2 separate regions of the Homo sapiens genome follow, and region 1 is linked to region 2. Evidence: promoter capture Hi-C in human tissues and cell types (Jung and others, 2019). All regions are on one chromosome and are shown on one strand. Each heading gives the region's core, a stretch centred on a gene start or on the middle of the fragment in contact. The rest is flanking DNA. Distances are from core to core; before and after follow the strand shown.

Region 1 (4,937 bases), core at 1,838-4,337, 51 kb before region 2:
CACTAGGTGTGGGATGCCACAGAAAGAGCATAACCTCAAGCAAGATGGGCCCCTGCACTATGGAAAACTCTAAAGCAGGGTGTCCCTAACCTCTGGGCCATGGACTAGTACTGGCCATGGCCTATTAGGTACCAGGCTGCACAGCAGGAGGTGAGCAGTGGGTGAGCGAGCAAAGCTTCACCTGTATTTACAGCCATTCATCATCACTTGCATTACCTGAGCTCTGCCGCCTCTCAAATCACTGGCAGCATTAGATTCTCATAGGAGCGCAAACTCTATTGTGAACTGTGCATGCAAAGGATTTAGGTTGCGTGCTCCTTAGGAGAATCTAATGCCTGGTGATTTGTCACTGTCTCCCATTGTCCCCACATTAGACAATCTAGCTGCAGAAAAACAAGATCAGGGCTCTCAGTGATTCTACATTATGGTGAGTTGCATAACTGTTTCATTATATATGATGATGTAATAATAATAGAAATAGAGTAGCAGAATATAATAGAACAATATAGAAATCTCATTATATATTACAATGTAATAATAATAGAAATAATGTGCACAATAAATGTAAAGTGCTTGAATCATCCCAAAACCATCTGTCCTATGCCTGGTCCACAGAAAAGCTGCGTTCCATGAAACTGGTCCCTGGTACCAAAAAGGTTGGAGACCACTGCTGTGAAGGATCTAACAACTGGAGGCTCTCTGCTGATATTCCTTGCAGTTGGGCAGCAAAATCTCTTTAAAGTGGAATCTGGGTGGCATCTCTCTGTGTCTATTACATATAGATAGATATATAAATAGATATATATAAATATAGATACAGACATAGACAGAGACATGGATGGATATAGATATAGATATTACAGATCTATAGATATAGATATATACAGATACACATATAACTGTTGTATGAGGGTATATATCCAAAAAATAATATATAGCATTGTGTTTGGTTATTTATTATTGCTTTAAAAATTACACCAAAGTTTGGTGAATTAAAAAGAACTCAATTGTTCGCTCATGAGTTTGCAATTTGGGCAGACCTCAGAGAAGACAACTTGCCTCCACTCCATGGGGCATCAGCTGGGGTGTCTTAACTAAGGCTTGAGTATTTACTTCAATATTGGTTCACTCACATAACCAACAAATTGGTGCCAACCATCTCCTGGAACATCAGCTGGGCTCAATTACACTCAAATTGTGTATCTTGATGTAACAGCATGGGCTTGCTCACAGCATTGAAGCTGAATTTTAAGAAGGAAAAAGAAGCTCTCAGGCCTTTTATATCCTGGTCTTTGCAATCTAGACCATCACTTCTTCTACATTCCATTGGAATTATGTCCCAACCCAAGTTCAATGGGAAGGGAACATAAGCTCCACCTCTTAATGGGAAGAGAGGCATGTACATCCAGGGAGGAGAATAATAATTTGTGGATCTCTGGAGACTAACTATCACAGCCTAGCTACTGGCCACAGAAACTCACATCCCTCCATGTACAAAAGAATTTCACCCATTTCAAGACCCCTAACAGCCTCCTTTCATTATTGCATCAACTACAAGTTGAGAATTTCATTTACATCAGGTCTAAGTAGAGATGAGTCTAGGCACAGTTCCTTGGAAGAAGTTCCTTGAGAATGGTTCTCCTCAATATGAGGAAACAAGGCATCTGTTCACATACAATGGTGGAAAAGAGACAGGAAAACTTCAACGGGTGCTCCAATTCAAAAAGGGAGAAGGAGGGAAGGAAGGTTCATAGTAATGACAAATCTATTACAAAGCTAAACACATTAAAGTTACTTAATTAAAGCCGACTGAGTTGCCTGAGAGTGGCTTACCATGACACATGGCTCTATCTTCACCTGTGTGTAGAGCTAAATAACTTTGTCTGCTTCATGTCTACAGAAAGTTAAGGACCTAGATACATCTTGTTATAAAATTCCTCTGTTCCTTTTAATTCAAGCTAACATAATTTATTTAAAATTCTGATGGGCTTCTTTTTTATCAAATTATAAGCCATATTAAATGGCATACGAATAAGCTAAATTTGAACCTCCAAGGAAAGGAAAAGCTTATTTGTGACTTAGCTAAACAGATATGATAATTCATGTTAAAATTCAGACTTCATCTTATAATCAAAAATAATGCTTTTATTCACTTATCTAACATGGATCTAAATGCAAAACTTTAATTGTGTTTGATAGCATTATGTAAATTGAAAAACTGCAAGAAATTTTGAAGAACATTTTGTCGATATTGATAAATTCATAATTTTCAATTTTACCAAACCCTTTTGAATTTAATGTTAATAATGTGAAGTTATTGAAGATTTAGTGAATTTACTTAACTTGGACAGATACCATCTTGAAATTAATATACTTTTGTTTTAAAGTTCTATCAATTCCTCCAATAACTGAATCAGTTTTATCAATATGCATTTGAATGTTAATAAAAATGATTTGGGGTTCTCAATTAAGTTATTGGAAAACTGGTAAGTAAATGTGACATAATTTGAGTATATGAATCTACCTTTTCAACTATACATTTTATGAAATTTAAATATACATCAAATATATACAATGAAAATTTGGTGTCCAAGTTATGTTGTAGGTGTAAAATATACATTGAATTTTGAATACTTAGTATTAAAAAAGTAAAATATCTCATTAACAATTCTGTATTGGTTAAATGCTGAAATAATGCATTGTGAAATTGCATTCAATATTATATTTATTTATTTCACCTGAGTTTTTCTAATATGGCTGTGTCCATTATCAATTTATTGCATCTGAGTCCCAAAGTCACCCTTATGTACATGCTCTGTGATAATGAACTGTATTCTTAAACATTTCTCCTTCATAGGCAATATGATTTTAAGCTTTGTCAGTTGCAGGTGCTAGAGGGACATTGCAGGATGCAGAAGACTTCTCTTCCCGGTTCTTACTGCTGAGCTTTGGGGTTTTATCTTGTTCCTGATAAACAATCACTCCACATGTGGGTGCTTGAGGACATTTATTTGTTGGTGCTCATCCCTAACTATGTATCCAGGGTGCACAGGCCCTCATCACCTTCCCATAACCCTTCTGATACAGACACCACACCCACAAGAGTGCCCCAACCCTTTCTGAATACCCACCTACTAGCCTCAGCTTGTCACAATTGCACCCTCGAGGATTGTTCCTTGCTGCTCAGCAACTGTAGACCATCACTCTTGCCCAGGTAATCTAGCAAATTGTCTGCTGTCCAGTGAGCTGAAATTATAATTTTTTCCAGGGAGTATGGACCTCAGCCTGAAAGAGGTCCCCCACTTTCAAGGTTATCCTTCCTTGACTACTCTTCCTCAGCTCTAGGATACCTTTTAGAGTTCTTTTTAAATCTTCCTAGTTTTATCTTAGCTTAATAATTCTTTATATTAAACTTCCCCTATTTAAGTTACTGTGTGATTTCTGTACTTGATTAGACTCAGATTATTACAGGGTATATGTGAAGAAAAACTTTAATTACATATATGACTTACATTATATTTTTATTAGATAGTGCTGCTAAAGAGTATATACCTAGAGAAGATAGGGAGAGTGCAAGTAGTTGGAAACCTTGAAAACAATGACAAAACATTAAATTATATTTTAATAAAATTAAGAATTAAAAATCAGGTCAAGCTTCAAGAGACAGATGAAGTATTTGAACTGGCACATCAAAATGGCATTGAAATATGATTCTTTCTACCATGACTCAAATATTTTTCTGGGAAAAGTCTGAAAGTCTACCTGAGAGGTTAGCATTCTTGTCCCATTGAAAGATAGTTTAAGTGCCAAACTACAGCTGTAGAAAAGAATGGAGAGGAAGAGATAGATATGACAAAAACAAAAACAAACAAAAGTTAGGAGTAAAATTGGCAAACTAGTCTTTAGACGAAATAGATATGTCTGGCAAAGGCCAATGTGATATTAACGATAACACCAAAGTGTACAGTTTAGTCATTATTAGAATAGTGATATCTGAAAACAAAGTTTGTTCCTAACAAACTGCTAGTCTAGATCTCCAGTAGCATGAATGAGTACAAGCTAACCTACAAAATAGAAGCATATTTTAACCTTATCACTTGAATTTAGGTAAGCAATGTTATTCAATTAAAAATCACCTGCTTAACAAATCTGTAAAAAAGATTTTAAAAGGGCTTTAAAAGGGGTCTTTTTAAAAAGGGCTAACAATTATAGACTAGTAAGAACTGCCCCACCAAACTGTTAAAAGTTAGATAGAATCTCACTATTGATTGTTAAGGCCTAATACTGTCTATGTGAGCAAGGTTATATAATAATATTGATTTCATGTTTAATGTGAAATAAATATATTATTACTTTTCAATTTTTAAAAATCGTAATTAATTTTGTTCTATGTGGCTTAAAATACGATTATTTATGTACTTTATATATAATAACTGAATAATCTTTATAACATTAGGAAAACTAAAAGCCATCAGCTAATTAAAAGCCATACCCATTGAACAGCAAAGGAAGGGAATTTTACTGCAATGTAAATTCCAGTACTCCAACTATAATTTCAGTCATGCAAAGACCAGACTATTAAGCCATCAGAAAAAATAATCCATGGAAAAACTGCTGATTCCATGTATTTTTTACTGAATATAGCCCTAAAAATATGTTTCAGAAAGTTTGTTTAGTATTATATAACTACTTGGGTTATGTGGTTTTCATATTTTTTAGTCTATTTACTAAAACCATTGGTCCTACATTTAATTGTTCACCACAAATAGAGACTTTCCAAGCTTTCAAAATAATGGAATTACATTAAATATCATCAATATTTAGGATGAGAATTGCATTACATTTCATATTGATGATAAATGTAATCAAGATATTTTTAAAAACATGTTCAGTATGTGTAATTCACTATAAAATTTTATTTAAAATTTTTCTTTGAA
Region 2 (4,838 bases), core at 323-2,822:
GGCCTGCCTGCGCCTCGCCTGGGCTCTTGCCTTCAGCTTGAGATATCTGCAGCCGCGAACCTTGCTCCAGCCCAGAAAGGGGCGCTTTGCTCAATTAATTGTTCCCGCCGGCGAGTCCGTACTGAGAAGCCCATGAGCGGACCTTATGTGCAGGGTACTCCAGCGCGGTGCACAAAACTCGTCGCCCCCAAACGCTGCCCCCACCCCAACACTGTGTACTGACTCCAGCTTTTTACTTTGCCATGTAAGGGATGGACCTGAAACGGTTATTTTACCTCAATTCATTTCAAAAAGGAAACAAGTATGGCATTGCAAAAGATGGGCTTCTTATCCAAGGCGACTTCCTTTCTGGTTCACCAACTTTGCTGCTTCCAGTTTGCCAGGATCTACATTAACACCCTCTTTGGGGCTCTTCGTTTTAACTTACAGACAGAAATGCTTAAAATGTTAGCGTATCCAAGCATTTGGAATTGGGGCTCACGAAGCCTAATTGTCCACTGGATGCCCTAGATAGTGGGGGCTGGGGCGGGGGGGGTCTCAGAGCGGGCAGCCCCTATGTCTAGGCGCTATCAAATTCCCACTTCACTCTCTTACAAGCTGGCCTTTCAAGGTCACAATGCGGAGCCTAATTTGGGGGTGGGGATGAAATGGCCACAGGGTCTCTCCCTTGGGTTGGCATTGCCAGCTGTTAGGGCCGCAGCAAAGGCGCTGCGCTGCCCCCCTCTGGCTCTGCTGCCTTTCCCATGGACTGGGTTTCCTTCCACCGAAGAGTGAACTTCTGCCTCTTTCGAGCACCTTCCGAGGCGTAGTCCTTTGGATGTTGGGGAGCGTCAGACTGGGTCGTTGTAGAGGGGAAAGGAGGGCCCAGAAGGGCGAGAGAGCAGGCCGGGACGCAAATCCTCAGCCCCCGCGGCGCGGCCACGTCTTCAGAAACGCCCAGGACCTCCGGGCTGGGCCGCCGCGGTTTGGCCTTTGGAACTCCAAGGGGTTCGTCTACCTGACCATTGGGTGGGCTCCGCGGTTGACACTTTTCTTGGCATGCCCCCCCACCCCGCGCCACACCACCCCCCCAGCCCCAGCAATCCCAAATCGGCCCCACGGACCTAGAGGGCTCTTGGGCGAGATGAGACATCACCCACTGTGTAGAAGCTGTTGCCATTGCTGCTGTCACAGCCACTCCGGATGGGGCTGCCACCGCGGCCAGGACAGTCTCCTCCGACCGCTTCCTGGGCTGCGCTAGGGTTCGGGGGCGCTGCCCGCACGCTCCGGCGGGGAAGGAAATCGCCCCGCGCCCGCCGGAGGAAGGCGACGGGGAGGGAAGGGGGAGGGCGGCTAGGAGGCGGGTGGAGGGGCCGGCCGCCCGGGCCAGGTCGTTTTTGAATGGTTTGGGAGGACGAATTGTTAGACCCCGAGGAAGGGAGGTGGGACGGGGGAGGGGGACTGGAAAGCGGAAACTTTCCTATAAAACTTCGAAAAGTCCCTCCTCCTCACGTCAGGCCAATGACACTGCTGCCCCCAAACTTTCCGCCTGCACGGAGGTATAAGAGCCTCCAAGTCTGCAGCTCTCGCCCAACTCCCAGACACCTCGCGGGCTCTGCAGCACCGGCACCGTTTCCAGGAGGCCTGGCGGGGTGTGCGTCCAGCCGTTGGGCGCTTTCTTTTTGGACCTCGGGGCCATCCACACCGTCCCCTCCCCCTCCCGCCTCCCTCCCCGCCTCCCCCGCGCGCCCTCCCCGCGGAGGTCCCTCCCGTCCGTCCTCCTGCTCTCTCCTCCGCGGGCCGCATCGCCCGGGCCGGCGCCGCGCGCGGGGGAAGCTGGCGGGCTGAGGCGCCCCGCTCTTCTCCTCTGCCCCGGGCCCGCGAGGCCACGCGTCGCCGCTCGAGAGATGATGCAGGACGTGTCCAGCTCGCCAGTCTCGCCGGCCGACGACAGCCTGAGCAACAGCGAGGAAGAGCCAGACCGGCAGCAGCCGCCGAGCGGCAAGCGCGGGGGACGCAAGCGGCGCAGCAGCAGGCGCAGCGCGGGCGGCGGCGCGGGGCCCGGCGGAGCCGCGGGTGGGGGCGTCGGAGGCGGCGACGAGCCGGGCAGCCCGGCCCAGGGCAAGCGCGGCAAGAAGTCTGCGGGCTGTGGCGGCGGCGGCGGCGCGGGCGGCGGCGGCGGCAGCAGCAGCGGCGGCGGGAGTCCGCAGTCTTACGAGGAGCTGCAGACGCAGCGGGTCATGGCCAACGTGCGGGAGCGCCAGCGCACCCAGTCGCTGAACGAGGCGTTCGCCGCGCTGCGGAAGATCATCCCCACGCTGCCCTCGGACAAGCTGAGCAAGATTCAGACCCTCAAGCTGGCGGCCAGGTACATCGACTTCCTCTACCAGGTCCTCCAGAGCGACGAGCTGGACTCCAAGATGGCAAGCTGCAGCTATGTGGCTCACGAGCGGCTCAGCTACGCCTTCTCGGTCTGGAGGATGGAGGGGGCCTGGTCCATGTCCGCGTCCCACTAGCAGGCGGAGCCCCCCACCCCCTCAGCAGGGCCGGAGACCTAGGTAAGGACCGCGCCGCTGCACCCCTTCGCCTCTCAGGTGGCAGACGGCAGGCCGGCCAGGCCGCGGTTCCCAGTCCACCTCGATTTCCTCCCCTCTCCCACTCTCCGCTCAGCCTTCCCACCTCACTTGGCACCGTTGCCTCGCGCCCCCAGCGTCCCCGGAAGGCCGGTCTGACCCCGCTAGGGAGAGCAGTCTCCAGGGGGATGCGCCCTGGTGAGGGGTGTGTGTGCGCGTGAGTGTGCGTGACAGGAGGGGAGACAGAGACACCCAGGGTCACGGGTAAGGACCGTTTTGTCAGCGCCACCCTTTCTTTCGGCTTTCAATTTTTGTTCTCCTTAAAACAAATGTTTTAAAACAAATTCCACCTCCTCCTCCTTTCCACCCACCCACTTCCTCTTGCCCTTGGGCTGAAATCCTTCCAGGTTGTTCAGCTTAATTTCTCAGTGGTGGTGATAAGAACAGTGCTCACTAGTCTTAGAAAACAGCCGCAGAGACCTAAACAATAACCGACTCCCCCCCCCCCCTCTGGGTTTTTGCAGATGTCATTGTTTCCAGAGAAGGAGAAAATGGACAGTCTAGAGACTCTGGAGCTGGATAACTAAAAATAAAAATATATGCCAAAGATTTTCTTGGAAATTAGAAGAGCAAAATCCAAATTCAAAGAAACAGGGCGTGGGGCGCACTTTTAAAAGAGAAAGCGAGACAGGCCCGTGGACAGTGATTCCCAGACGGGCAGCGGCACCATCCTCACACCTCTGCATTCTGATAGAAGTCTGAACAGTTGTTTGTGTTTTTTTTTTTTTTTTTTTTGACGAAGAATGTTTTTATTTTTATTTTTTTCATGCATGCATTCTCAAGAGGTCGTGCCAATCAGCCACTGAAAGGAAAGGCATCACTATGGACTTTCTCTATTTTAAAATGGTAACAATCAGAGGAACTATAAGAACACCTTTAGAAATAAAAATACTGGGATCAAACTGGCCTGCAAAACCATAGTCAGTTAATTCTTTTTTTCATCCTTCCTCTGAGGGGAAAAACAAAAAAAAACTTAAAATACAAAAAACAACATTCTATTTATTTATTGAGGACCCATGGTAAAATGCAAATAGATCCGGTGTCTAAATGCATTCATATTTTTATGATTGTTTTGTAAATATCTTTGTATATTTTTCTGCAATAAATAAATATAAAAAATTTAGAGAACCTTAGAGTTTGGTCTATATTTTTAAAACTAAAGATTAAGTTGGTGGTAAATACCTGCTTGTTTAATTCTAGAGGCACCCAGGAGGGAGGGGGCACTAATATAAACAAAGCAATGAAAAACTCAAATAAAGCAGCTACTGACAGGCACAAGCATGTTATTTTAAAAGACAGCTTTATTATTATTCCAGTTTGGTATTCAGAGGGCTTAGTAGCATCTCTTCATCTCTTACTGTCTCCAAACAGCAAAAACTTAACAAATTTGCTATTCACCTCCTTTTTATTTTGAGGTGATAGTTGTTAAAACAGTTAAATGCAAATAAGGAGTATAAAACCTGCACTATTCTCTTATTATGTACTTTTTGTCATGCTCTTCACTCTTTGTGAAGATTCCTAAATAACAGGTTCTTTTCAGTGAAAACATATATAGTGTTATGAAAATTATCTATACACATATAGAAATGACCAGAAATGCATAGAAAATAAAGTGTAAATCAGCAGAAAAGAGAAAATTCCATTTGTAATTTGCTTAACTCTTCTCTCATGAATGAATATGACGTTTAGTGTCATGTTTGCTAAAAAGAAAAGTTAATATATCGCTATATTGACGCTATTTGGGAAGCATCATTCTTTTTTTATGTGTAAAGAATATAAGGCTGTGGAATAATATACAAAAATGAAGATCCTGAACTTTCAGTATCCTTGGTAACTGGATATAATCACAGTTGGAATAATCACAGTTTTAAATACTACAGCTATGCAGTTACTAGTCAGTTCATTAGCGTTATATTTTATCCAGAATTACACAGAATTTTTCCCTGGTGAGATCATACATACACACACACACAATCTGAAGTTAAGTAAAACAATAATGGGCAAACGGGGGTGTTTGATTTTTTATTTCATTCTGATTATTTGTGGGCCAGGAACATACTGGCTTTTATAATTAACATTATTAGAAATAGTGATTTTGTATCAGTTCTTAGCTTTTACATCCGATTTACTGCATCCAAGTGTAACTGGGGAAGCTTTCAAACTGGAAAATCATTTTGGTGCCTGTTTCAAACAATGACTAATAAGTGTATGTATCCAAACAGATCG

What was found. The method cuts DNA at HindIII sites, captures the fragments that hold promoters and counts their contacts. A contact is called where the count stands out against the background at its distance.
Region 1: a fragment that was not itself captured here is called in contact with the fragment with the promoter of TWIST1 in region 2 in 1 of the 25 tissues and cell types used here (hippocampus).

What each region holds. Positions count from the first base shown.
Region 1 is chr7:19,166,452-19,171,388 of GRCh38, reverse strand. No RefSeq gene overlaps it. Among named protein-coding and RNA genes, the nearest start is that of FERD3L, 23 kb to the right of the region's middle. The HindIII fragment of the contact is 3,931 bases long and covers 1,122-4,937 here.
Region 2 is chr7:19,114,370-19,119,207 of GRCh38, reverse strand. TWIST1 (twist family bHLH transcription factor 1) reads left to right here and starts at 1,572. Exons shown (of 2, transcript NM_000474.4): 1 at 1,572-2,537; 2 at 3,077-3,740. The coding sequence starts at 1,887. The coding sequence ends at 2,495. RefSeq lists enhancers at 1-425, 1,499-2,282, 2,306-2,565. The HindIII fragment of the contact is 7,370 bases long and covers 1-4,838 here.